Linked DNA regions of Homo sapiens: all the other regions are linked to region 6. The links are contacts of gene promoters, found by promoter capture Hi-C in blood cells and fetal thymus (Javierre and others, 2016). All regions are on one chromosome and are shown on one strand. Each heading gives the region's core, a stretch centred on a gene start or on the middle of the fragment in contact. The rest is flanking DNA. Distances are from core to core; before and after follow the strand shown.

Region 1 (3,323 bases), core at 426-2,925, 2.1 Mb after region 6:
TATCATGCCATTGCACTCCAGCCTGGGAGACAGATGGAGACCCTGTCTCAATAAATAAATGGCGACTTTATTTTATAGTGAATAAGTGAAGCCCCTGGAACATCAAACATTTGCCTAAGGTGACACAGCTAGTAAGTGTTAGGACTGGAATTTGAATCCAGTTATCTTATGTCTAAGGCGTAAGAGACATGTACTATATGAACTACTATATATGTAGCCATTACATTTCCTCAATGGGGCATCCCATAGTGACATAAGAAAGTTATTTGGAACCAGAACAAATCAAACCAAACCAAACCAAAACAAAACAAAAAAACAACCAATAAAACAAACAACAAAATTATGTGAAAGTGAAGTCTTTTGTTCCAAATGTGTGACTATCAGATTTTCTCAACCTTGACTTCCAACCTGTCCAAACCTGTGCTAACTGCCAGCTGCTTGGAAAATCCATCTGCCACCTACCGCATCTTGTTCCTGCTTGTTTTTCTTCTTTAATGACAGATGTCCCAGTTACAAATCCAATAGCAGATTTAAGCATCTGAAATAACCAACACCAGCCTTTACCTGGGTGTGTCTCTATTCTCAAAACCCAAACTCTGGCTTTTCCTGGTGTGTCACTTTGCCATTGTCTGAACTCTGGATATAATACTTTATACTACAGTTTGGTGAGTTCTTGGGGCTATATGTTGAAATAAACCCATTGCTTTAAAGAGAAAAAGGTACAGGAAGCTAATTTAAAGCTTTTTTAATTTTCAAGTATAAAAAAGTCATACATTTTCACATTTAATTCAATAAAATATCTTTTCATAGCCTGAATTTTTTTTTTTTTTTTGAGTTCAAGAATTTCTTTTTTTCTTTCTTTCTTTTTTTTTTTTTTTGAGATAGAGTCTCACTTTTGTCACCCAGGCTGGAGTGCAATGGTGAAATCTCGGTTCACTGCAACCTCCACCTCCCGGGTTCAAGGGATTCTCCTGCCTCAGCCTCCCGAATAGCTGGGATTACAGGCATGCACCACCATGCCTGGCTAATTTTTTTTGCAGTTTTTGTAGAGATGGGGTTTCACTATGTTGGCCAGGCTGGTTTCGAACTCCTGACCTCAGGTGATCTGCCCGCCTCAGCCTCCCAAAGTGCTGGGATTATAGGTGTGAGCCACCGTGCCCAGCCAAGAATTTCTTTTTAATTGCCGATCAAAACAACAAAAGAGAGTTGAGATTTTGACTCTTGGTATTTCCTGTCTGCCATTTCGAAGATGGGGTAGGCTATTTGAATTACATCTGCTGTTAGTATATGAACAATAAATAACAACATTAGCTATCAATATCAATATGGTGCTGTGATGCTGAGAACTATATAAGCATTGCCTCTGGCCTCCTTACAATCACTTTGCAAAGCAGAAAGTATTATCCCAATCTGCAGATGAGAAAATGGAGATCAAAGAAGTTAAGTGACTTGCTAAGTAGGAATACACGGTTATAAGTGACAGAGTCAGAGTTGGAACCCAGGAGCAAATATTTTTTAAAAATTCATATTAAGCCCAGCATGTGGACAAAAACTTTCTTTTCATGAATGAGTATAATTTAAAGGTAGTCTAGGAAAAACAGGTACCTACTGCTGGGAATCCCAACGGCCTTTGTTAGTTCCCAGTCCAATTTCCCCACTGTAAGCAGGAATCCTTTAGTTTGTAGCAGCAGTGGGTGAAATCAAGGTGGGTGGTTTGGGAGAATAAACTAAAATGGACATCCCATCTGGGAAGTTAATAGTATCCAGGGAAATGGTGGCAGAGGCAGCCATCCCTGTATCTGATTTCTCACAAAAATGCACATAAACACCCCCCCATCCCCAATTTTGGTAAACACTGCATCTTAATGCATTAGAAATTGACTTCCTTCATATAGAAAAAAAATCTTAGAAAAAATTTTCTTCCCTCGTTTTTGTTTATTCACATAAATGGAGTAATCTGAAATAAATCCAATGTGTGCAAACACCAAAGAAAAAAATTAAAACCCTTCATTCAAAGCAGCATGTGCAGACTCCGCTTGCATGAAAACATTGTGGTACCCAGCAATGGAGAAGGGGAATTAAATGATCTATATGGTAGCTGACTGGGCAGGACCCCAAACAAGAGTGGCACCCCTTCACTCCAATGACTCCTAGGCACGTTTTGGGAAAGACTTTGCAGGGAGTTAGGGAAGGTTCACAAAACACAGGTCACAGAGTATTAGGCAGCCAACAAATAGAATAATCATGCAGACTCTATAGCAACAGGAACAAGTATTTACGATAATGACAAATGAAGAACATAATACAAATCTACCTGTATACTATTAAAGCATATATGAATATGAAATAAAGGCTAAAAAGAAATACTCCAAAATGATACAAGTTACTGTGTTGGAGTTGTAAAGTTATGGGCAATTTTCTTTCATTTCTAAATTTTTTTATGATGTTGCTAATGTATGATTTTAAAAGTGTTTACCAAAAAAAGATAAAAGGGGAAGAGATAAATTAATATTTTATATTATATGGGAAAAGTGGAAAGTTCTTAAAAACCTAATGACTTTTTCTTCCATTCTTCCTCTATCATCTTTTCAAAGTCTACTTAAAGCTTCTTCTCATTCCAGTTCATTCTCTGTTTTGAATAAAACTGATCAGTCCCCCTCAGGCTCAATTCCAGCATAGTTTGAGCCTGTTGTATTTTGCTAGCTTGGTGTCACTTGTGTGAACCATACAGACTTGTCTCAATCTGATTTGGAAGTATGTGACCTGCAGGAAAAAGCTGAGATATTCAGTTTGCAAAACAGCAAAAGGCAGGAATCAGATACAAAAAGAAAGGCAGTGTTTCTCAGGTAAGCAAATAAAAAACCTTGCATGTAGTTTTACTGTTAATAAACAATTAACATTTGAAGTAAATATGTCAGAAGCTATAGAACGAATAGAAATAGGTTGACTTCCTTCCAAATTCTGCTTTGTGCTAAGATATTTGGTCAAACTACATATTATGCATTCATTGAGGCCAAGGATTGCCACTTAAGGTACTGCTGCATTCTCTATAGCACTCAATGCTAGATTCCTAATTAGGCACCAGTAAGTGCTCATCAACTTGTCTCTTAAGCAATGTAACCTGCTTTGGTTTCCTACTCCTACCACTTCTCCCAGCTAGAAGTCCCCCTCTTCTACTGAGCAGCATATTCAAACTTTTATCTTAGGCTATTAGCTCTTTTTAAGTTATGGCCAGACCTTCTTCACCCCGATAGACACTAAGCCCTTTGAGGACTGGGACATTGCCTGTGTCATGTTTCCATTATTTACAGTGCCTGGTTCAT
Region 2 (3,278 bases), core at 495-2,994, 2.2 Mb after region 6:
TGTTGGATGTCTTCTGTGGTCCCAGAGCTGCCTGGGTATACGTCATTATCACACTGCATTGTTGTCTGCTTTTCTGTAGTGTTTCTCATCTTGAGGCCAGTGCTGATGTCTTTTGTCTCTCTGTCCTTAGTTCCTAACACAGGATTCATATAAACTAGGTGAGTCATGATAAAATTACCTGATGAAGGGAGGGATCTTATTTTGATAATTTTTGGCATCTAAAATTCTTCAGAAAATGAGATGTTTAAACCAAATCTTAACCTGGTATCAAAGATTATGTGATACCCTCCAGAAGTCACCTACCTGAGGCTTGATTAGGTTTTTCTAGTTCAGTTGTTAATGAGATTGAATATGCCTCATTCTCACTGGCATATCTTACCAGCTCTTGTAAAACTGTTCCAGGGAAGAATGTAAATCCATCTATCAAGATACCTTTCAAATGATCAGGCCTCTTCCCGTCAACCCTTCCACCTCCATTACGCTTGTAGAGTGAACCCTGTTTCCTTCAATGTACTTTCTTCGTTAGTACCTAAACGTATGCTGGATACAGGGTCATGCTGAGAGTTTCCAAGACTTCTAGATATTTTGATTGCAGTATGCTTTCCTCTCCATTATTTAGTGGGGTCACCTTGGCCTGTATAAATCCCACTTCCAGATCCCTTCCCCCATCATAGTGCATGTTATAGGCTCTTGTGTCATTTCTGTCTTAATACCTTTTAGTGTAGGTTACCTTCCCCTAAGTATAATTAAACAAATCTATAATTACTATGTCTGTTCCTGCTTTATTTCCTTTATAGTGGAGATTTGTTGACTATAGATAGCTTGAATGTCTCGGTTTACTTTATAGGGATTTTTAGAGGAAAAAGTAAATATTTCTTTGAAATTTCTATGTACTTATCAAGGGATATAGATAATTTGTTTTCTGTCTTTCAGAATTTTGATGGGGATTTGGTTTAAACTTTATCTGCTCTTTGAGTTTTATAGTATAAATCTTTTTAAGAAATTGTGTTTATTTTTGTTTACTCTTGAATTTTAATACATCATAGTATGCTAATTAATATAGTGTTTGTCTCCAAATGCCAAAATGTTATGAAATTGTGAAAATTGTTTAGCTATATTCTTTTTCTTGGGAATATGATAGGAATTGCTACCTACTTGAAATTAGGCATGGCCATGTGACCTGATTTAGCCAATGAAATCTGAGCAAAAGTAATGTGTAATACCCCAGATGGACACTTTGAGTGAGTTTGTATAGACAGTACTTTGCCACTGTTTATCCTCTTGCCATAGTAGCAGCTCCTTCAGCCTAGATCCTTGAAGACTTGGAGCAGAGCCTCCAGTCAGTGCTCAGTGGATGTATAACATGAAAGAGAATAAAATCTTTGTTATTATAACCTAGTCAAATCTGACTGCTACAGTTGGTATTAATTAATGTCTTCTTTAAAGGAACATTTATCAAATAAACACATCTCAGATAAAAACAGTTGTTCTCCCATGGTGTATGTATCTTCATGTTTGTCCTTAGTGGTTATAATAATCTGTATAAATTATGAAGAGAATCTGCTGGAATGATTAGTAAGGTGCTTTATTTGTGGGCCAAATAGTAGCAGGTATTAGATACGTTGGTGGGCCAAGAAATGAAGGGAAGCCAAGAATGGAGTGATACATCTTACAAAAGAGACCAAATTTCATACCCGATGACATCAAATTTTATACCTAATGATGTCAAATATAGGCCATTTGTTTCAGGAAAAAAAAAAAAAAGCCATCTGACCAGTCAGTTTTGGAAAGTCATCTGTTGAGAATATACGGTTACCTAGTGGCAGGTCTGGGAAAAAGAAATTCACTCTTTTGACTCTAGCCATATATCCCTTTTTTGGGGTGGGGTGGGGTGGGGTGGGGTGGGGGCGGGCACGGAGGCCGAGTCTCAACTCTTGTCACCCAGGCAGGAGTGCAGTGGCTTGATCTCAGCTCACTGCAGCCTTCGCCTCCTGGGCTCAAGCAATTCTCCTGCCTCAGCCTCCTGAGTAGCTGGGATTACAGGTGTGTGCCACAACACCTGGCTACCTTTTTTTGTATTTTTACTAGAGATGGGGTTTCACCATGTTGGCCAGGCTGGTCTCGAACTCCTGACCTCAGGTGATCCACCTGCCTCAGCCTTCCAAAGTGCTGAGATTACAGATGTGAGCCATGTGCCCGGCCCCTGTATCCTTTTTATTATTAAAATATTTGACCTTGCACACTTACTAAGAAACAGGTAAATAAATATATGTATACATTTTACTGTCTTAAAATCTACTTTTACTTTTTAATTATGCTATTGTTTTTATTCTTTTTTCCCTAAACTTTTTTTTTTTTTTTTTTTTTTTTTTACAAGTTTGCACAGAGTTCTGGGCTTATGACAAGATCCTCACTGGTCCCTGCATAATCTGCATATCTGTGTGTGTATGTAGTTATACAGCAATAAAATAATTAATATCTGTTAACCCAACTTCTTATTGTCAGTAACTTAACTTTTTATGTGCTTTTCTCCTTGCCTCTCCCTAATTTGTAACTGTCATCATAAACTTTATTTTAATCCTTTGTATTTTTAAAAAGCATTATATATAGTTTACCTAAACAGTAAATATATTGTGTGTTTTTATTTTTATAAAAAATACTAAATGTAGTCTTCTGGGACTTCTTTTTGTTAAAGATCACATTACTAATATTTGTCCTTGTTGCATGTGGTTGTAGTTCATTCATTTTTACTGCTGTATAATAACATTCTATTCTATGAATTACCGTAATTTGTTACCTATTATCTGGTCTGTAATAGACATTTAGGTTGTTTCTAGTATTATGCTATTACGGACATGTTGCTGTGACTATTTCTGTTCATATTTTTGGGTAAATGTGTTACAGTTTCTCTTGGATATGTACCCAGGATTAAAATCTCAGGATACCTTTCTCAGGAAGAATTTGAATTTACTGGCCTAATATTATTACTAGTTAACATTTCACCAGATAAAATAAGCTGGATTGCTCTCACAGAGAAGGTAGGGCATGTACAACCCAGAGGTGTAACCTCTCAGTGCTTGCTTTATCAGTTAAAAAGGTTGGTTTTCAAATGGCTAGGTAGGGTAATTTGAATCTCAGAATTATCAGTAGTCTACTATAACCTTTCTGTAGTTGTACTTTGAGAGACGCATTACTTATATGCACACTCACGACCGAGAGTGTTCATCACATAACTGAGATGTAAAATAATTGCCTTCTCGTCTCTCCTGTTTTCGTTT
Region 3 (3,264 bases), core at 457-2,956, 2.2 Mb after region 6:
TGTTTGACATGGCATCTTGCTCTGTCACCTGGGCTGGAGTGCAGTGGCATGATCTTAGCTCATTGCAACCTCCACCTCCCAGGTTCAAGCGATTCTTCTGCCTCAGCCTCCCAAGTAGCTGGGATTACAGGTGCACACCACCACGCCTGGCTAATTTTTGTATTTTACTTTGTGTTTTATGCAAATAACAACATTGTCTCTAATGAAAAAAGTTTAAGTTTTAAACACTGGTTATTCCTCATTCTGTATGATTAGCTTACATGTCCTAGAGTGTGTTGGGTATTTGTCATGGCTTAATTATTGTGGGGAAAATAACAGAATATTTGCTTACATGCCACTTAATGAGTTCACTTTTTTTACAGTAGTTTTTATTTATAGTCATCGTTGCTGAAAATGTTATGAAGAAATAAATCTGTCTTTATCTCTGTTTGATATTTCAGAAAGACTGACAAAAGCAACATTACGTGGAATAATCTTAGTTTCCCAATAAATCCTAGATTTTATTCTTCACAATACTTGATTTGTTCTACGTGTATGTTTTGCTTATTTACCTAAAGGAAAGTCATTTAGTCATTTAAAAACAATATTTAGCCTTTTCTTTAATATTTTGCAATTATTAACAAAAAATTGTTTTAAGAATATTTCAAAAACATAAACAGTGGATTGCCACTCTAATAAGTCCTTTTATATTAGAGTAGCTTGACTATAAGGTGAAATTGTATGCAAAGAGTTTCTTACTGCAAGTGCTGAGAAAACCACACTATAACACCATTTTTACAAGTAAAGACTCATACTAGAACATCTAGTTTGGGAGTATTTTTAGCTGTTATCTTCTTTTAAAACAGTGTATGGTATGCATATTTTTCTATTCCTAAGGCCCAAACTGAGTTGGCATTCTAGAATCATTATCTATATTCCTTAAGTAAATAGAATTCTTACCTTTCCTTAATTGTATAGCAGATAATCCAAGAACAAGTTTAGCCCAAGGCGAAGTAAGATAATTCATTATATTTGCATGTTCCTTTTATGTACTTATTGTTGATAACTGATTTTTGAACATTTTCAACTGTCTTTAAATGGAGAGTTATATGCTGTCATTCTGTAACCCTTTACTGCCCTTTTACCGTTTTAAATTTGATCTAAGTATTACAAAAAGCTAGAAGTGTTTTTGACATCTAGAAAAACATTAGTTTTGCAGTACACACACGTACATATATGAGACGTGTGTGTGTGTGTGTGTGTGTGTGTATGTATATGATAAGTGCTATGAGTAAAAACTAAGGATAGAGGAATAGAGTCAGAAAAGGGCCCTCTGAAGAATGACATTTACACTGAAATGTGAATATTTAGTCATTTACCATTAAGTCACACTGTTTAATCTATCTTAATATTCATAGAAACAATAGCGTAGGATGATGGCCTCCAGATTCATCCATTTATTCTAAGCAAACTAATGTAGGAACAGAAAACCAAATACTACATGTTCTCACTCATAAGTGGGAGCTAAGCAATGAGAACGCATGGACACAAAGAGGGGATCAACAGACACCGGGGCCTACTTGAGGGTGAAGATTGGAGGAGGGAGAGGATAAAAAAACTACCTATTGGGTACTATACGTACTACTTTGGTGACAGAATAATCTGCACAGCAAACCCCCATATATGCAGTTTACCTCTATAACAAACATGTTCATGTACTCCTGAGCATAAAAGTTAAAAAAAGAAATGATAGTGTAAAGATCTTCATAATCTCAAAAATTTTTATTAAACTGATAAAATATTTTAACCAAACTCTTGAGTGTTCCAATTTTAGATAATCAGTAATTTAGCACTGCCCTATTATAGTAAATATTAAAGATTAACCTTAAAGCCAGTGTAAGTAGTAGTTTTTATGTCACAAAAGGTGTTTTTAGTTTAGCATATGTGCCTTTGTTCTCAGCTAACGAAAAAAGTTGATATGCACAGTTCTACTTAAAGATAATTAGAAATGTCAGGGAACCTATTTCATTTGGGAATATTTTTTCTTTAATAATGATCTAGGCTGTGGTAATGAAATTCTTTATTATCTGTGTTTACAAATCATTGTAACTTAATTAAAATTTTACAATTATACCACAGATTAAAAATAGGAACAATTTGAAGATGTGATTTTATTTGAAAATTTTATAGTAAGGTTTAGCTTTATAAGTATTTTTCTCTTGCTTTTATGAATTAGAAATATCTTTCTTACTCCTGACAGAATATAAAATAAGTATAGTTAAAATTACTTTATAGACCAGGATTTTCTTCACTCTTTGATGATGAAATAAGTGCCATGCGTATTATTCTGAGTTAGAAGCGCATAGAATGTCCCCTGATACATTGTTCAAATGCACTATATGAAGAAAAGGTTAAGGTTTATGTGATTCTATTTTTTTCTCTTAGACTCTCTTAAAACCATGCTGACATAGAGCATATAAAATGCTCTATGTCAGCATTGTCCAGTAGAAATGTAATGTGCACCCCATATGTAATTTTTAAGATTTTTGTAGGCATATTTTTTGAAAACTTTTTAAAAGGCAGAGTTAATTTTGGTGATTTTTTTACTTAAACATCTAAAATATTTTTCAACATTATTTTATTTTATTTTATTGATTGATTGATTGAGACAGAGTCTCTGTCACCCAGGCTGGAGTGCAGTGACACGATCCTAGCTCACTGCAACCTCTGCCCCCTGGGATCAAGTGATTCTTATGCCTCAGCCCAAGTAGCTAGGATTACAGGCGTGCACCACCATGCCTGGCTAATTTTTATATTTTTAGTAGAGACAGAGTTTTGCCATGTTGACCAGGCTGATCTTGAACTCCCGGCCTCAAGTGATCCGCTCACCTCGGCCTCTCAAAGTGCTGGGATTACAGGCATGAGACACTGCGCTTGGCCCTCAACATGTTATTAATATAATAGTTATTAACTTTTTTTTGGTGAGGGATAATAAATGTTATTGTCTGAAGCCACTAAGGTTTTTTTTTTTAATTTTTAAAAAAGTTGTAAAATACACATAGCAAAATTCACTATCTTTACCATTTTTAAGTGCAGTTCAGTGGTATTTATTTCATATTGTTCTGCATCTATCACCATTTTCCATCTCCAGAATTCATTTCATCTTGCAAGATGTAAACTCTGTACCCATTAAAGAATAACTTCCCATTCCTGTCCTTCCCCCAGCCCCTGGCAACCAAAGTCCACTGTGTATTTTACAGCTGCAGCACAACTCAGTTTGGACTA
Region 4 (3,685 bases), core at 728-3,227, 2.1 Mb after region 6:
TTTTCATATGTTTAAGGGGCATTTTACGTTTTTTCCCTTCTTTGAATTCTCATGTCCTTTATTTTTCTCTTAGGTCATTGGTCTTTGTTTTCAGGAATTTTCTGTTGGGAGATTAGCCCTTTATTTGTGATGTGGGTTGCAAATATGTATATTTTAGATTATGTTTTTTCATGCATAACTTTCGACTTTTATATGGTGAAGTAATTTTTTCTTTTATGTTTTTGGATTTTGAAATATATTTAGAAAAGTCTTCACCATTCCAAGGTTATAAGGAAGTTCATCCACATTTTCTTCTAATACTTGTGGTTGTGTTTTTCACATTTGGATTTTAAAATTTGGATCCTTCAGTTCCTCTCAATCTTTGAGGCATTTTAAATGCTTACCCCTTGCTTTCTGGTTATACCTGCATCAGCATGGTTGTGGCCATATAGGTGATTCAGATGACTTATAGTAAAAGAAATACTTAGGCATTTACTCTCAGTAAGAAGTCTCAACTTTCTGATTACTGATCATGATTATTATAGTAAATGGAAACTCCTTTAGAGTTTCTTTTCACTGTTAAATTGTATATTTTGTAGTATTTTTTCTACTGATTATCAGTATTGTGGATTATTCATGTATCAATTGGTTTTTTCCTTATCCTGTTTCTTATAGGATTCCTTTTTAGATTATTAAACCTGTCTGTGATCTGTTTCTCATCTTCCTTAGAACTCCTACTGGTTTTATGGTCCTCTGATTACTAAACTCTATTTTATAATCTTCAGAAGTTTAATTAGTAGGCCAGTTTGCTGTTTTAACTCATTAAGAAACTGGCCAGTAGTGTCAGTGGATACTGCCTAATATAGGGTGATGATTTATCTTAACCTTTTATAACAGTATTAATATTTTCCCCACATTGCTTGTGATGAGACTAGTGTCACTGAACTGAGCTTGTAACAGACATTTGGGAAGCTGTCTGGTGGTACTGCGGAATTTTGGCTGCTGGAAAATACCACCAAAAATTATCTGTTGAGTATATTGCTTATAAGCATTTGTAGGGGGCCATGTGGGTGTTGATAAGAATGGCAAACCAGAAAGGAACATCAAAGTTGGAGTGTTTATTATTGATGTTTTGGAGTCTGGTTTAAGTATTTCAAAGCTTTATTAGAATTAGGTGAGGATCATGATATAATAGTTTGATTGGACAGACATACCAAGGTAAGAGTTTTGAGGTAAGCTTTTTCAGTGTCTTAGAAAGTGAACAATCATTTGCTACTATTTATTGAAAAATTGAATAGTCTGATGTTGGTTTATATGGGTTTTTTGGGAAGTTCCTGAAATGAACAATGAAGTTTTTTGTAGCTCTTATCTGCCTGAGCAGGAGTTTCCTGGAATAGCAAAGTCATGTTGTTGAAGACAGCTGTATAATGATAGTTAATATAGATTGTAAACTTGGTGTAGACAGTTTCAGTTCTCAGTGTCCATTTAGAACCACAAGAAACTTGAACATGTATTTATAAAAAGTCTGATTCTTAGGCTCATTTGCAAAGACAATGCATTCTCTTGGTGAATAGTTTGACTTTCAATTTTTCCCCTGGGGAATGAGGCCTGACTTTAACAATTAGGTGTCAGACATGCCCAAGTAGGCAGTTGGATAGGTGAGTCTGCAGCTTAATAAAGAGGTCAGGATCACTGTAATACCAGCAGTTTGGGAGGCCAAGGCAGGTGGATCACCTGAGGTCAGGAGTTTGAGACCAGCCGGGCCAACATCGTGAAACCCCATCTCTACTAAAAATACAAAAAATTACCCAGGCGTGGTGGTGGGTGCCTGTAATCCCAGCTACTCAGGAGGCTGAGGCAGGAGAATCACTTGAACCCAGGATGCGGAGGTTGCAGTGAGCTGAGCCCAGGATGCGGAGGTTGCAGTGAGCTGAGATCGCGCCATTGTACTCCAGCCTAGGCAACAAGAGCAAAACTCTGTCTCAAAAAAAAAAAAAAAAAAAAAGGTTAGGATCAGAGATGGAAATTTGGGAGTCACTGTGTGTAGATGTTGTCCACCCAGAATGAGCTTGCCTAAGGAGGAAACATAGAAGAAAAATGCTTGTGCCAGGACTTAGGCCACACTGGTGTGTGTGTATGTGTGGCTGAGGGTGGGGTAAAGGGGTGGAATAAATCTGCAGAGGAGTGGCCAGAGAGGTTGGAAGAAAACCAAGATATTGTTATAGAGAAGCCAAGGAAAATGTGTTTAGGATAATGAAGGACTGGTCAAACTCCTATAATTATAGGCAAGGAGCAGTGAAGATAACTGGTGTAGGTTAGTTCAGGAAATTTCTACCTGAAAGCTCTATGTTTAACTCATTTTTGTGTACATATGTATACACACAGGCACACTGTATGGGTTAGGGAAAGGGTCATCATATAATTGTGGATGGTGGAGATGGTTTGAAGTAGACATTGGGGAGAGTAGGAGACCAAGTGCAGCAGAGAAATATAGTAAGATTATTGGCCAGTGTTGAGGCCCATTTAGGTTCGCTGATCAAACTGTTCTGTTGTGTGACTGTTCAGCAGTGCTGAGATGAACTGGTGCTGATGTGGAGAAAGTCTTAGGTGGATTAGGATTGGGATGGACAAGAATATATTTGTGCATTACAGTAGATCCAAGTATATGTACCTTTCTGCCTTTGGAGTGGCTGTAGCATTGTGTTGTTTCATTTATTTCTGATGGGCTCTTCTCATGACCTCACTTGCTTGAAAGCTTACTGCTTGACTGGTATTCAGCCCATCTGAACTTACTTTACTTCTGTGGAGAAGTAAATTAGTTCCCCCCTTTTCCTGGTTTCCACAGAGTCTTGAGATCTCTGATGTTGCTTCTTAGGAAGAAGGGGCATTTGACTAAATTTATAAAGGAAGTATAAGAATTTGCCAAGAGGTCAGAGAATGGGATGAAGGGGAAGGGGTTAATTGTTCCTGGTAGAGGGATATGCTTGTGCAAAGTTAAGAGGCCTGAGCAAAACACCTTAAGGGAATAGAAGCTACAAATAATTTCTTTGAGGCAATGAAGCACTCACTGTGTATCTCTGGAGATGGAGCTGAAAAGTAGTGGGGTCAGAACACAAAGTTCTTGTAAGGCTAGGTGAAGAATGACCTGTTGGCCCCAGAGATTAATTTTTACTTAACAATTTTTCTACGCATGTACAAAATAACGGCTGTTCACAGAACTATTCAGTTCATGACATTCTTCACCTAAGAATTGCCTAGTGGGAAAATGTGTTTGCAGATTAGTTATCTGAATTTGATAATATTTTCATAGAAATAATTTTACCAATTTGGCTGCCGTGTTGCTCCATGAAAGTTACTTAATTTCTCATTTTGGCTGTTAATGGGGAAAGAGGGTTAGTGATATGTAGCTTGCAATTTTATATACAGAACATAAATCAGATGTTCATAATTTGGGAGTATACAGTGGCAAAAATAGTATATGTTAAATGCTTACTGTGTGCTAGGTACAATACATGCATTCTGATTTAGATCTCACATCCTTTTGGAGTAATTGTTTTTTGTTTTTTTGAGACGGAGTCTTGCTCTGTCGCCCAGGGTGGAGTGGTCTTCGCTCTGTCGCCCAGGGTGGAGTGCAATGGCGCGATCTTGGCTCACTGCCACCTCCACCTCTCAGGTTCAAGCGATTCTCCTGCCCCAGCCTCCTAAG
Region 5 (3,742 bases), core at 585-3,084, 2.3 Mb after region 6:
TTGGTAAATACGAGGTTTCACCATGTTGCCCAGGCTGGTCTGGAACTCCTGAGCTCAAGCAACTGGCCTGCCTCAGCCTCCCAAAGTGCTGGGATTGCAGATGTCAGCCACTGTGCCCAGCCTGCATTTTCATTCTTTTTGTTTATTTGCATCTTCTCTCTCTTTGGTGTACCTTATTGGTGTTTTCAAGAGAATCAGTTTTGGTATTCATCTGTTTTGCAAAATAAATTACTGATTTCTGCCCTTATTATTTCTGTATACTCAATGGACATAGTTTCTCTTGATTAGCCTGGCTTTTCTAACATTTTTTTAGTCATCTTTATTAGGCTCTTCTCCCATGACACTCCCCTATTTTAAACTGCAACGTTTCCCAAACTTTTGTCCCCAGCCACCTTTTCTCCAGTACCATGCTTGGACTTGACAACCATTTCCATTTTAGACATCTCCAACCAATGCCTCTTTCCCACAAAACTCGCCCTTCTTCCATTGCTTACTCCAAGTCAGTGAGAATGGTGGCTGGGACCACAAACTTAAAACTTGAGTCAGGGCTCCACCACTTACGAGTGTGTTATCTTGAATAAACTAGCCAATATCCCTGTGCCTTAGTTTCTTATCTCTAAAATAGAATTACTGGGAGTATTAAATGAGAAGCCACCAAAAGTGCTAAGAACAACGTCTTGCACACAATAAGTCATCAATCATCAATAAATGTTAACTATTGTTATGTTTTATCTTTATTTTTTCAGACAGGATCACTCTGTCGCCCAGGTTTGAGTGCAGTGGCATGCTCATGGCTCACTACAGCCTCAACCTCCAGGGCTCAAGCAGTGCTGCCACCTCAGCCTCCCTAGTAGTTGGGACCACAGGCACACGCCAGCACACGTGGCCAATTTTTGTATTTTTTTTGGAGAGACAGGGTCTTGCTATGTTGCCCCTGATGGTCTCGAACTCTTGGGCTCAAGTGATCCACCCATGTCACCCTCCCAAAGTGCTGGGATTACAGGCATGAACCACCATGCCCGGCCTTAACTATTGTTATTTAGTAGCATTTCCAGTATGTTAATCACTTAGTAATCTTTGCTTCTACTTAATTTTCAATACCTACTTTACCCCTCAGACCCAGCTCAAAGTCTGCCTCTCTTGAGCTCACCTCTAAAATGTCTTCTAATTATATCCTGTGTCCACTGTTTTAATCTCAAAGATGATTCTCCCTTCAATATTTGTAGTATCATTTCCTCTAGCCAGGTATGGTCGTTGACACCTGTAATCCTAGCCCTTCCTAGGAAGCTAAAGCAGGAGGACTGCTCGAGCCCAGGAGTTCAAAACCAGCCTGAGCAATATAGTGAGACCTCGTTTCTACAAAAAAATTTCAAAACTTAGCCAGGCTTGGTGGCATATGCCTGTAGTTGTAGTCCCAGCTACTTGAGAGGCTGAGGTGGGAGGATCGCTTGAGCCCAGGAGGCAGAGGTTGCAGTGAGCCGAGATTGTGCCACCGCACTCCAGCCTGGGCAGCACAGCGAGCTCATCTCAAAAAATAAAAATAAAAATTTCCTCTTATCTTCCTGTTCCTTCCACTTTCTCTTCAGTTCTTCCTCCACACTAATATCAGTGATTGTTCTCTAAAACAGAGATCTCATCCTCCTACCTCCAGCTTAAAAAGCGTAAACATTTAACAGATAAAGAGAGAAATTCCTAAGCCTATATTCAAGGCCCACAGCTGCGTTTCCAACCTTATCTCCTATCACCTGGTCCCTTCCTGAACAGACTCTCACGTCCCCGTCATTCGGCTCTATTCATCTAAATGTACTCGATCGAAATCCTGTCCCTTCCTCCCAGCTGAGGCGCCACTGCTTCCTTGGAGCCTGTCCAGTGGCCAGCTGGAAAAAGCGCGTCTGCCCCTTACTTTCTGCAGCAGTTTGTTTACTCATCCACTATTCACATATTCTCTGTCCCTACAGTCCTTGTCGCAGAGCATTGCAAATATTTGCTGGGGTTAGATTTGTTGAACTAAAAATTACAGCACACATTCTTAATTGAAAACTTAATTAGCTCTACCTTGTTTCAAGACATACCTATTCCTACTAGGTATATTCCACATTGGAACAAAATCTGTTTCAAAAGTCATGGAACAGACATCCTTAGACAAGAAGAAAATAATAAACTGTCCAAGAAAAACCGAGTTCACTTTATTTATATAAATCAAGGTTCTTTGTTTACATTTAGCACAATGTCTTCGGTGCCTCTCTCCTTACCTAAACATTTCTCAATTTTAAAGCATACCTCTTCCAGAAAGGCGTCTTCTCTCTCCTTCCTTGGAATTCTTTCATATCTGCTATAACCTGCTATAGTAATCATATTAGGGGCCCTTCTGTACAAAAATGCTTCAGCTGTTCAACTATTACCCCAAGGATTCTGATCAACCTTTCCAATCATGGTAATAGGAAACTTGCCAGCATCATTTAAAATGTGTAAGCCAAATCTATTTTTTTCTTCCTTCATTACATCTATAGCGTACATGAAAGAGGTTTGTTGTTATTTTGAAAGAAAATTATTTTCATCAGTTTAAAAGGGATGTTGGCCAGCGTGGTGGTATGCCTGTAGTCCCAGCTACTCCAGAGGCTGAAGTGGAGGACTACTTGAACCCAGGAGTTCAAGACCAGCCTGGACAACATAATGAGACCCCGTCTCTAAATTTAAAAAAAAAAAAAAGTTCTTAAAAAAATAAGAGGCACTGCTGATAGTAATCTGAATTCTGAATATGTATCAATTGTAACATCTAGTTTTAAAAATCAGAAAGTTATTCCTCTACCATATTTTGTTGTTTACCGTTCTCAAAATTGCTATTTTCAACTTTTGCCATACTCAGTTGCTCTTTTCACAGGAAGACTAATAATATTTTAAAAGGCAAAAAATTGTTTTTCCTTAGTCTCCTGGATCCAGCCACAAAAAGAGAGCCCAAGGCCATACAACCTGTCAGCCATCCGGAATACCAGCTTGTCTTTTTTTTCAAGGGTTGTATTCTGAATGGCTTCAGGAAAGAGAACAGGTCCACTTGGTGAAATTAAAACTCTAAGCAGGTAGCCTTTAAATGCAGTAATTTCTGATGCAGAATTCTAAATATAAACTAGGAACCTCTGGTCTGCAGTGCTTCTCAAATTGGTTCCTAGACTGGGTAGTATCACTAGGAACATGACAAAAATGTTTTTGGGCCAGGCACGGTGGCTTACACCTGTAATCGCAGCAATTTGGGAGACCAAGGCAGGCAGGTCACTTGAGGTCAGGAGTTTGGGACCAGCCTGGCCAACATGGCAAAACTCCATCTCTACTAAAAATACAAAAATTAACTGTGTGTGGTGGTACACGCCTGTAGTCCTAGCTATTTGGGATGCTGAAGCAAGAGAATCACTTGGACCCAGGAGGTGGAAATTGCAGTGAGCAGAGATCACACCACTGCACTCCAGCCTGGGCAACAGAGTGAGACTCTGTCTCAAAAAAAAAAAAAAAAAAAGTTTTTATCAGGCCCTATCCCAGACCTACTGAGTCAGAAACTCTGGGAGTGGGGCCCTGCAATCTTTATTTTAACTCACCCTCTAGGAGATTATTTTGCATGCTAACTTTGAGAACCATTGGTCTACAGTAGTGACTGAGGACTGAAGAAACGAGCGGATGCACGTATCCCAACTCCCAGAGATCCTGATAACGTGTCGAATCACTGTAGACATGAACCATCATTTCCTGTTGG
Region 6 (3,347 bases), core at 698-3,197:
CCTTAAAAACTAAAGTAAAATTTGAAGGAAGGAATAATTTCGGTTTAAACTAGTGATCATTCCCAACAACTCCAAACACCACATTCACTGTCTCTTACAAGGCATTTTATGTTACACCAATTACTAGTTTTAGCTTCATCCTATTACGATTTGAAGCCTGGTAACTCGGCAGGCATAAGCAAACCCACAAAAAGCATATTAAAATCCACAGGTAAAAAAGCAAACTATTCTGAAACAAAACATGCTTTGCTGGAGCCGATTTGAGATTTAACCAGGATCAGACATTCCAAATTGCAATACTGATGCACCAGAATGTCATGAAATAAATTTTTCCTGAATCCTAAGTCTTTCGTTTCCTCAAGCAAAATTTACCAATATGTGGGGAAAACGCAATCCAAACTGCAATTTTCAAATATTTGTTTGCAGGGCCGGGCCCGGTGGCTCACGCCTGTTATCCCAGCACTTTGTGAGGCCGAGGCGGGAGGACCACCTGAGGTCAGGAGTTCGAGACCAGCCTGACCAACTTGGAGAAACCCCGTCTCTACTAAAAAATACACAAATCAGCCGGGCGTGGCGGCGCATGCCTGTAATCCCAGCTACTCGGGAGGCTGAGGCAGGAGAATCGCTTGAACCCGGGAGGTGGAGGTTGCGGTGAGCCGAGATCTCGCCATTGCACTCCAGCCTGGGCAACAAGTGCGACACTCCATCTAAAAAAATAAATAAATAAAAACTAAAAAATTATAATAGGCGCCTAAAAATATAGTTTAAAATGCTCCTTTTAATTCGGCATGAACCTGTTCCGCCAAAAGATGGCCTGTTGCTGGGAAAAATTAAAACAAACTAGAAAACATAAACGGTTCAAAAAGCCCTCCACACGCAAAAGTATAAAAAGGCGGGAATTTCCTCATTTCAAATTTTGGTTAGAAATTAGAGTGTCATCAGTTGCCCTCCAGGGAGCGCTCTGAGACTCTGCTGCGAGTCATTTCAGTTAATAAAGCGGGAAAACGCTCGAACTTAACCTATAGCATTTTGGGGCCACCCCTCCAGAGCTTTCGAAAGGGCACGGAAGTCCCCGTCTAAACGCCCGCTGCAGGCGGCTGGTGGTCCAGGGAAGCGGCGTCGACTGCGTGCAAAACAACCGCCGCCAACGCAACTCCACACCTCCCAGACCCACACGTCAAAGAACGCGAACCCCGCGGCCCCAACTTCTGGCCTCTCCGCTCCGGCGCCTGCAGCCCCGCGGGGAAGGGGCGACGCGAGGGGGCGCAGGGACAGCCCCGCACCTGGGAGGCCCGAGGGGGCGCCCGGGAGGGAGGGGCTGCAAACGGCGGCGAGCGCGCGCGGCAACCGCCAAACGCCCGCCTTTGTAGCCCCGGCCCCGCGTCCTTACCCTGCCGACGGCTGCTCGGCTCCGGCCCGCGGCGGCGGCCCCAGAGCCGAGGACCGGGGTGGGCTCGCGCTCTTCGTCACTGGAGAAGTCCGGGGGCCCCTTGCTGTTGGTGCCGGCGGGGAGCGGCGGCCGGTTGCGAGCCGTGAGGTGCTGCAGGTAGAGCTGGACGTACACGTCTTTGCGCTGCTCCCCGGCCGGCAGCGTCACATTGTTGGCGACCAACTCACTCTTCAACTTGTCTTTTGTCAGGACCGAGGGGTCTTCCAGGAACTCCGGCATCTCGGGGATCTGCGAAGCCCCCTCCCCACAGCCTTTGCCGCCGCCGCTCACGCCGGCGCGCTTGCTCCTGGCCGGGGACCGCGCTGCCGCCTCCGAGCCTCACGGCTCCTGCCCGGGAAGAGCGCTGCGGAGCGGAACAAAAACTCGCGGACACAAAGCCAAGCCAGACCCGGACACAAAAGACCCCAGAGCCGAACTACGAACCAACTGCGGCCAAGCTGGAAGCTCGCACCAACCCCAGCCCACACACTACAGGCAGGAGGCGAGCAGCCTGCTTCGCCCACGCCCCAAGAACGCGCGCCGCCATTGGCGGGCGACGGGAGGAAGCGCGGCGGTGATTGGCGAGACGGCTCGCGCGGGTTCCATTAGCCGCCGCGCTGAGCGAGAGGAGGTAGAAACGCAGTTTAAAAGGCGCTGGGGCGGGAGCCGAGGCTCCCGGCCCGCTTCTGTTTTCGTTTTCTCCACCCTTCCCCTTAGACGCCGATAAGGGACAGGTCGTACTGCTTTTGTGCGCCGTTTCCTCTCCCTCCCCCAGCTTGAGAAGCAGCTTTCGTCTCTGGGGTCGATCGCCTACGAACGCGCCGAATTCCACGCCAGTGTGAGGACCCTTGGCTGGGCCTTTCTTCCTCCCGGGACACTGAAGCTCCAAGAGTAGCCGCAGCCTTGCCTTCCCCAAACGCTAGCCCTGAAGGGGAAGAAAAGAAGCGAGGCTTGTCTGCAGGCACTCATATTCCTTGATTTGATTTACTTTGGGAGGGGGAGGGCGGGGAGTTACCCCTCTCCTCGCGAACGCTTCTTTTGTTCCAGAAACCCAGGGGAAGCCAGACCTCTACAATCGGGCACTTAAATTACCCTTGAATTTGTGACAAAAGTGTACTATACCATTCACTTCTTAGTGTCATAGTTGGGGCATGTCTAAATTGTTTAATTTGAACAGTGCGTTCAGACGCAAGACAAATTCGCGCTTGCATTTTTGTTGAAACCGTCTCTGGCTTTGGATCCCACCACCCGCAAGAATCCTAAACCTAACGTTTGATAACAAAACGAAGGAGAACCCTTGGGAACCCCCTCAATGGTCAATTTAAAATAACAGATGGTGCATAATCCTAAAGGAAGACTAGTGACCTATAATTAGGCCTAGAACCCTAATCAAACCCGTATTACCGATCCAAATTAAAACCTGGTAGAATCTAATACATTGACTGCAATTAAAATGTTTGCCTGGAAATTAGTATCACTGATGACAAATATTTGTATTTCTGATGAATATGTATGTTTAAAGATGCTTTCTTTCTAGAAAGGAAAGGAGACCTTGGATGTAGGGTGTGTTAATCATTTCCCCAGAATCTGAGCTCCAAACTATGTTTTAGAAACTGGTTAAATTTTTTTTAAATGTTTGCCTGCTTTCTACATTGCTAGGTTAGAATACATTTAAAACAAACGCCTTCACTAAAAATGTTTCCTATGATTTAAGCGACTTACTTTTATTCAAATTGCGATATTATTTCTTTTAGTGATAATTATTTTCCTAGAGGTAACTAATTCCTTTATAAAAATCTCAGTATTCACATACATTTAAGCAATGGTATTAAGCTCAATAATGCAAATTAAAAATCAGGTTTTAATTAGCAAGTTGTTAGGTAGGTTTTTATGATCCCTTGTAAAAGTTGCTTGGTTT
Region 7 (3,666 bases), core at 491-2,990, 2.1 Mb after region 6:
CGCCTCCCGGGTTCAAGTGATTCTCCTGCCTCAGCCTCCCGAGTAGCTGGGATTACAGGCGTGCACCACCATGTCCAGCTAATTTTTGTATTTTTAGTAGAGATAGGGTTTCACCATGTTGGCCAGGCTGGTCTTGAGCTCCTGACCTCATGATCTGCCTGCCTTGGCCTCCCAAAGTGCTGGGATTACAGGTGTGAGCCACTGCACCTGGTCTATACTTGTGAGAAACTATCAAGTAACAGCATTGAAGCCCTTATCACTCCAAATTTAGACTTGCTCTTCTTTAAATTAGTTAATATGTGTTTTTTAGTATTATTTTAGAATAAACATTTTTTGAAGTATAACAACTTAGATTTTAGTATTTTATATTATTGACTTGTAATGTTATTTCTGGTGGAAAAAGAAGCTTTTCATTGAGTATGTGTGTGTGTGTTTGTGTTTGTTAAGATACAGGGTCTCACTCTGCCACCCAGGTTGATTGCAGTGGTGTGATCACTGCTTCTTGTAGCCTTGATCTCTGGGGCTCCAGTGATCCTCCCACCTCAGCCTCCCAAATAGCTGGGACTACAGGTTCAGCGCCACCAGTCTTGGCTAAGTTTTGTGTTTTTAGTAGAGATGGGGTTTTGCCATATTGCCCAAGCTGTTCTTGAACTCCTGAGCTCAAGCAATCTGCCTGCCTCAGCCTCCCAAAGTGCTGGAATTACAGGTGTGAGCCACTGTGCCCAGATTTTTTACTGATTCTGAAGTAAAATTGGATTCCTTAGACTTAAGCACCTTGAGTCTGACCTATTAAATTAGCTTTTTTTTTTTTTTTTTTTTTTTTTGAGGCGGAGCCTCACAGGCTGGAGTACAATGGCACAATCTTGGCTCACTGCAACCTCCACCTCCCGGGTTCAAGCGATTCTCCCTGCCTCAGCCTCTCGAGTAGGTGGAATTACAGGTGTCTGCCACTATGCCCTGCTAATTTTTGTAGTTTTTAGTAGAGATGAGGTTTCACTATCTTGGCCAGGCTGGTGTTGAACTCCTGACCTCGTGATCCACCCGCCTCAGCTTCCCAAAGTGCTGGGATTACAGGTGTGAGCCACTGTGCCTGGCCTTAAATTGGTTTTAAGAAGTGGTCCTTTATGTCTCAATTTGAGTTAATAAATTTAATTTTTCAATTAACTCAGGTTTGCAGTTGGTATTTTTAAAGCATTTGTTACGTCCTCAATATTGTATTAGCCGTTATCTGTGTTGTAACAATATAATTTAATGTGGCAATATTGTAACATATAAGATAACAGCAATGTTGGTTGTCTGAGTATTCTGTCCACAGCCTTCTTTCCAGGTTTTATGTGTTCCTGGCAATCTGGTCTATATTTAGGGCTTTGTTCTCATCACCCATATGCAATAATCTCCACCTCTTTATTTCTAATCTAGACCTCTTTTTCTGAGTTGCATTCCAGCTTCCTACTCGATATTGCCTTAGTGCTCCCTTACCTAAACTGAACTCGAATCCCCTATTTCTGTTCCCAATTTCAGTGAATGGTACCACTGTCAGCCTAGTCACGTAAGCCAAAAACTTTGGCAGCTTCTTTCTTACGCTTTTCTGTTATGCTCATTTCCCCTTAGTCCAGTTAGTCACACCAAGTCCTGTTAATTTTAATTCCTAAATATCTTTTAAATTTATTTTTTCCTGTGTCACTTTCTTACGTAAGGGTTTTGGAATGTCTTATCTGATTTACTGGCTCCAGTTTTGTCCCATTTTAATCTAACCATATTCTTTCTTTATGTTTATATATGTATCTTATTTTATCCTTTTTTCCGTACTGCCGTCCATTCATCCATCCATGTCTGAAGTACCTGCCTACTCTGTACTAGACACTATGGTAGGGGCTAGGATACAAAGATGAAGAAACTGGTATGTTGATATTACAATGCTATGACACTTGTAGAGAAATTCTCATTTTTAAGCCCAAACGTCTCTTTCTCCAACGTGATCTTTGTTCCATTCTGACAGTTATGGTGGTTCTGCTATATAGTATTTATGTATACTGTAGTACTTAATATGTTATGTTGTAATTAATTATTTTCAGGTCTCTCCCTCTTTTGGCTGGCGTTGTGCTCCAGAGAGGCCGTGTTTTTTTTCATTTCTGTATTTCTTCCCGTATTATCATACTCTTAAATTGAATAAAGTGATGGAATTAGGAGGAACAACACCGAGTTGGTAAATTAAGGTCAGAGTAGGCTTAGAAGCAATCAAGAATACATTTTGATATAGTAGATAATAAAAAGTGTAAAAGGTTTCAAATATTGGAGCTATACAGTTTTGGTGGTATTTGTGTGAGAGCAATCTAGAGCAGTTTGTAGGCCAACTTGGAGGGACAGTAACTTGGCATTATTGAGACTGTTTAATTGCATGTGAGCTGTACTAACTTGTTAGTGAAAATGGAGAGAAAAGGGGTGTGGCCTTCAAAGATTGTTGTCTTTTAGACAAAATGGAAATATAAAATTATAATGTTAATATGTAAAGAAAGTACTCATTTCTGAAGGTCTAAAAATATTGGTCAGTGTATCAGGAGTAAAATTTGGTTTAACCGAAAAAAACTGGCCTGCCGCGGTGGCTCACGCCTGTAATCCCAGCACTTTGGGAGGCCAAGGCGGTCAGATCACTTGAGGTCAGGGGTTCGAGACCAGCCTGGGCAACATGGCGAAACCCCATCTCTACTAAAAATACAAAAAATTAGCCGGGCGTGGTGGCTCAGGCCTGTAATTCCAGCTACCTGGGAGGCTGAGGCATGAGAATTGCTTGAACCCGGGAGGTGAAAGTTGTAGTGAGCTGAGATCACACCACTGCACTCCAACCTGAGTGACAGAGTGAGACTCTGTTTCAAAAAAAAAAAGAAAAAAAAAATCAAAAACAAAACAACCCCCCGCCCCAAAATCGTCCTTAATGAAATCTAGCTATTTAACTGTGTAGTATTGGCTTAAATGCGCTTACTGCAGTGCAGAATTGTACTCAAAGGATCAAACAGTGCATTTAATGTTATTCATTCTGCTGTGGTAGTTTATGTATACAGTTGACTAGAAGCTTTGTTTTTCTTTTTTTTTTTGAGATGGAGTCTCCCTCTGTCGTTTAGGTTGGAGTGCAGTGGTGCAATCTCAGCTCACTACAACCTCCACCTCCCGGGTTCAGTAAATTCTCCTGTCTCAGCCTCCCGAGTAGCTGGGATTATAGGCGTGTGCCACCATGCCTGGCTAATTTTTGTATTTTTAGTAGTGTTGGCCAGGCTGGTCTCTAACTCCTGAGCTCAGGTAATCCACCCACCTTGGCCACCCAAAGTGTTGGGATTACAGGTTTGAGCCGCCACACCCAGCCTTGTTTTTAAATGGAATTACAGTAATTAAATAAAAACTGTTCCATGGTCTACTTTTAAACTTGAAGGATTTTTTTTCTTTTTCTTTTCTGTCTTTTTTTTTTTTTTTTTTTTGAGATGGAGTCTCACCCCATCGTCCAGGCTGGAGTGCAGTGGTGCGATCTCTGCTAACTGCAATCTCCACCTCCCAGGTTCAGGCGATTCTCCTGCCTCACCCTCCTGAGCAGCTGGGACTACAGGTGCACGCCATTGTGTCTGGCTAATCTTTGTATTTTTAGTGGAGACCATGTTTCACCATGTTGGGCAGGCT

The links. The method cuts DNA at HindIII sites, captures the fragments that hold promoters and counts their contacts. A CHiCAGO score of 5 or more calls a contact.
Region 1: a contact is called between a fragment that was not itself captured here and the fragment with the promoter of TMPO in region 6, in 1 of 17 cell types (naive CD8 T cells). The highest score is 7.3, in naive CD8 T cells.
Region 2: a fragment that was not itself captured here is called in contact with the fragment with the promoter of TMPO in region 6 in 3 of 17 cell types (total CD4 T cells, non-activated CD4 T cells and naive CD8 T cells); the score reaches 10.0 in total CD4 T cells.
Region 3: a fragment that was not itself captured here is called in contact with the fragment with the promoter of TMPO in region 6 in 1 of 17 cell types (activated CD4 T cells); the score reaches 6.7 in activated CD4 T cells.
Region 4: a fragment that was not itself captured here is called in contact with the fragment with the promoter of TMPO in region 6 in 4 of 17 cell types (non-activated CD4 T cells, naive CD8 T cells, erythroblasts and 1 more); the score reaches 12.4 in non-activated CD4 T cells.
Region 5: a fragment that was not itself captured here is called in contact with the fragment with the promoter of TMPO in region 6 in 2 of 17 cell types (non-activated CD4 T cells and total CD4 T cells); the score reaches 7.6 in non-activated CD4 T cells.
Region 7: a contact is called between a fragment that was not itself captured here and the fragment with the promoter of TMPO in region 6, in 1 of 17 cell types (naive B cells). The highest score is 6.1, in naive B cells.

What each region holds. Positions count from the first base shown.
Region 1 is chr12:96,412,007-96,415,329 of GRCh38, reverse strand. No RefSeq gene overlaps it. Among named protein-coding and RNA genes, the nearest start is that of CDK17, 13 kb to the right of the region's middle. The HindIII fragment of the contact is 1,865 bases long and covers 743-2,607 here.
Region 2 is chr12:96,357,465-96,360,742 of GRCh38, reverse strand. The region is part of intron 1 of CDK17 (cyclin dependent kinase 17); the gene reads left to right. Among named protein-coding and RNA genes, the nearest start is that of CDK17, 41 kb to the left of the region's middle. The HindIII fragment of the contact is 4,569 bases long and covers 1-3,278 here.
Region 3 is chr12:96,339,303-96,342,566 of GRCh38, reverse strand. The region is part of intron 1 of CDK17 (cyclin dependent kinase 17); the gene reads left to right. Among named protein-coding and RNA genes, the nearest start is that of CDK17, 60 kb to the left of the region's middle. The HindIII fragment of the contact is 6,875 bases long and covers 1-3,264 here.
Region 4 is chr12:96,373,810-96,377,494 of GRCh38, reverse strand. All of the region lies in intron 1 of CDK17 (cyclin dependent kinase 17), which reads left to right. Among named protein-coding and RNA genes, the nearest start is that of CDK17, 25 kb to the left of the region's middle. The HindIII fragment of the contact is 1,518 bases long and covers 1,219-2,736 here.
Region 5 is chr12:96,261,784-96,265,525 of GRCh38, reverse strand. All of the region lies in intron 4 of ELK3 (ETS transcription factor ELK3), which reads right to left. Among named protein-coding and RNA genes, the nearest start is that of ELK3, 69 kb to the right of the region's middle. The HindIII fragment of the contact is 7,613 bases long and covers 1-3,742 here.
Region 6 is chr12:98,514,190-98,517,536 of GRCh38, reverse strand. TMPO (thymopoietin) reads right to left here and starts at 1,947. Exons shown (of 9, transcript NM_001032283.3): 1 at 1,391-1,947. The coding sequence starts at 1,669. TMPO-AS1 (TMPO antisense RNA 1) reads left to right here and starts at 1,311. Exons shown (of 2, transcript NR_027157.1): 1 at 1,311-1,546; 2 at 1,640-3,347. RefSeq lists a silencer at 1,188-1,457 and enhancers at 1,798-1,987, 2,248-2,327. The HindIII fragment of the contact is 4,246 bases long and covers 1-3,347 here.
Region 7 is chr12:96,390,513-96,394,178 of GRCh38, reverse strand. All of the region lies in intron 1 of CDK17 (cyclin dependent kinase 17), which reads left to right. Among named protein-coding and RNA genes, the nearest start is that of CDK17, 8.1 kb to the left of the region's middle. The HindIII fragment of the contact is 2,664 bases long and covers 409-3,072 here.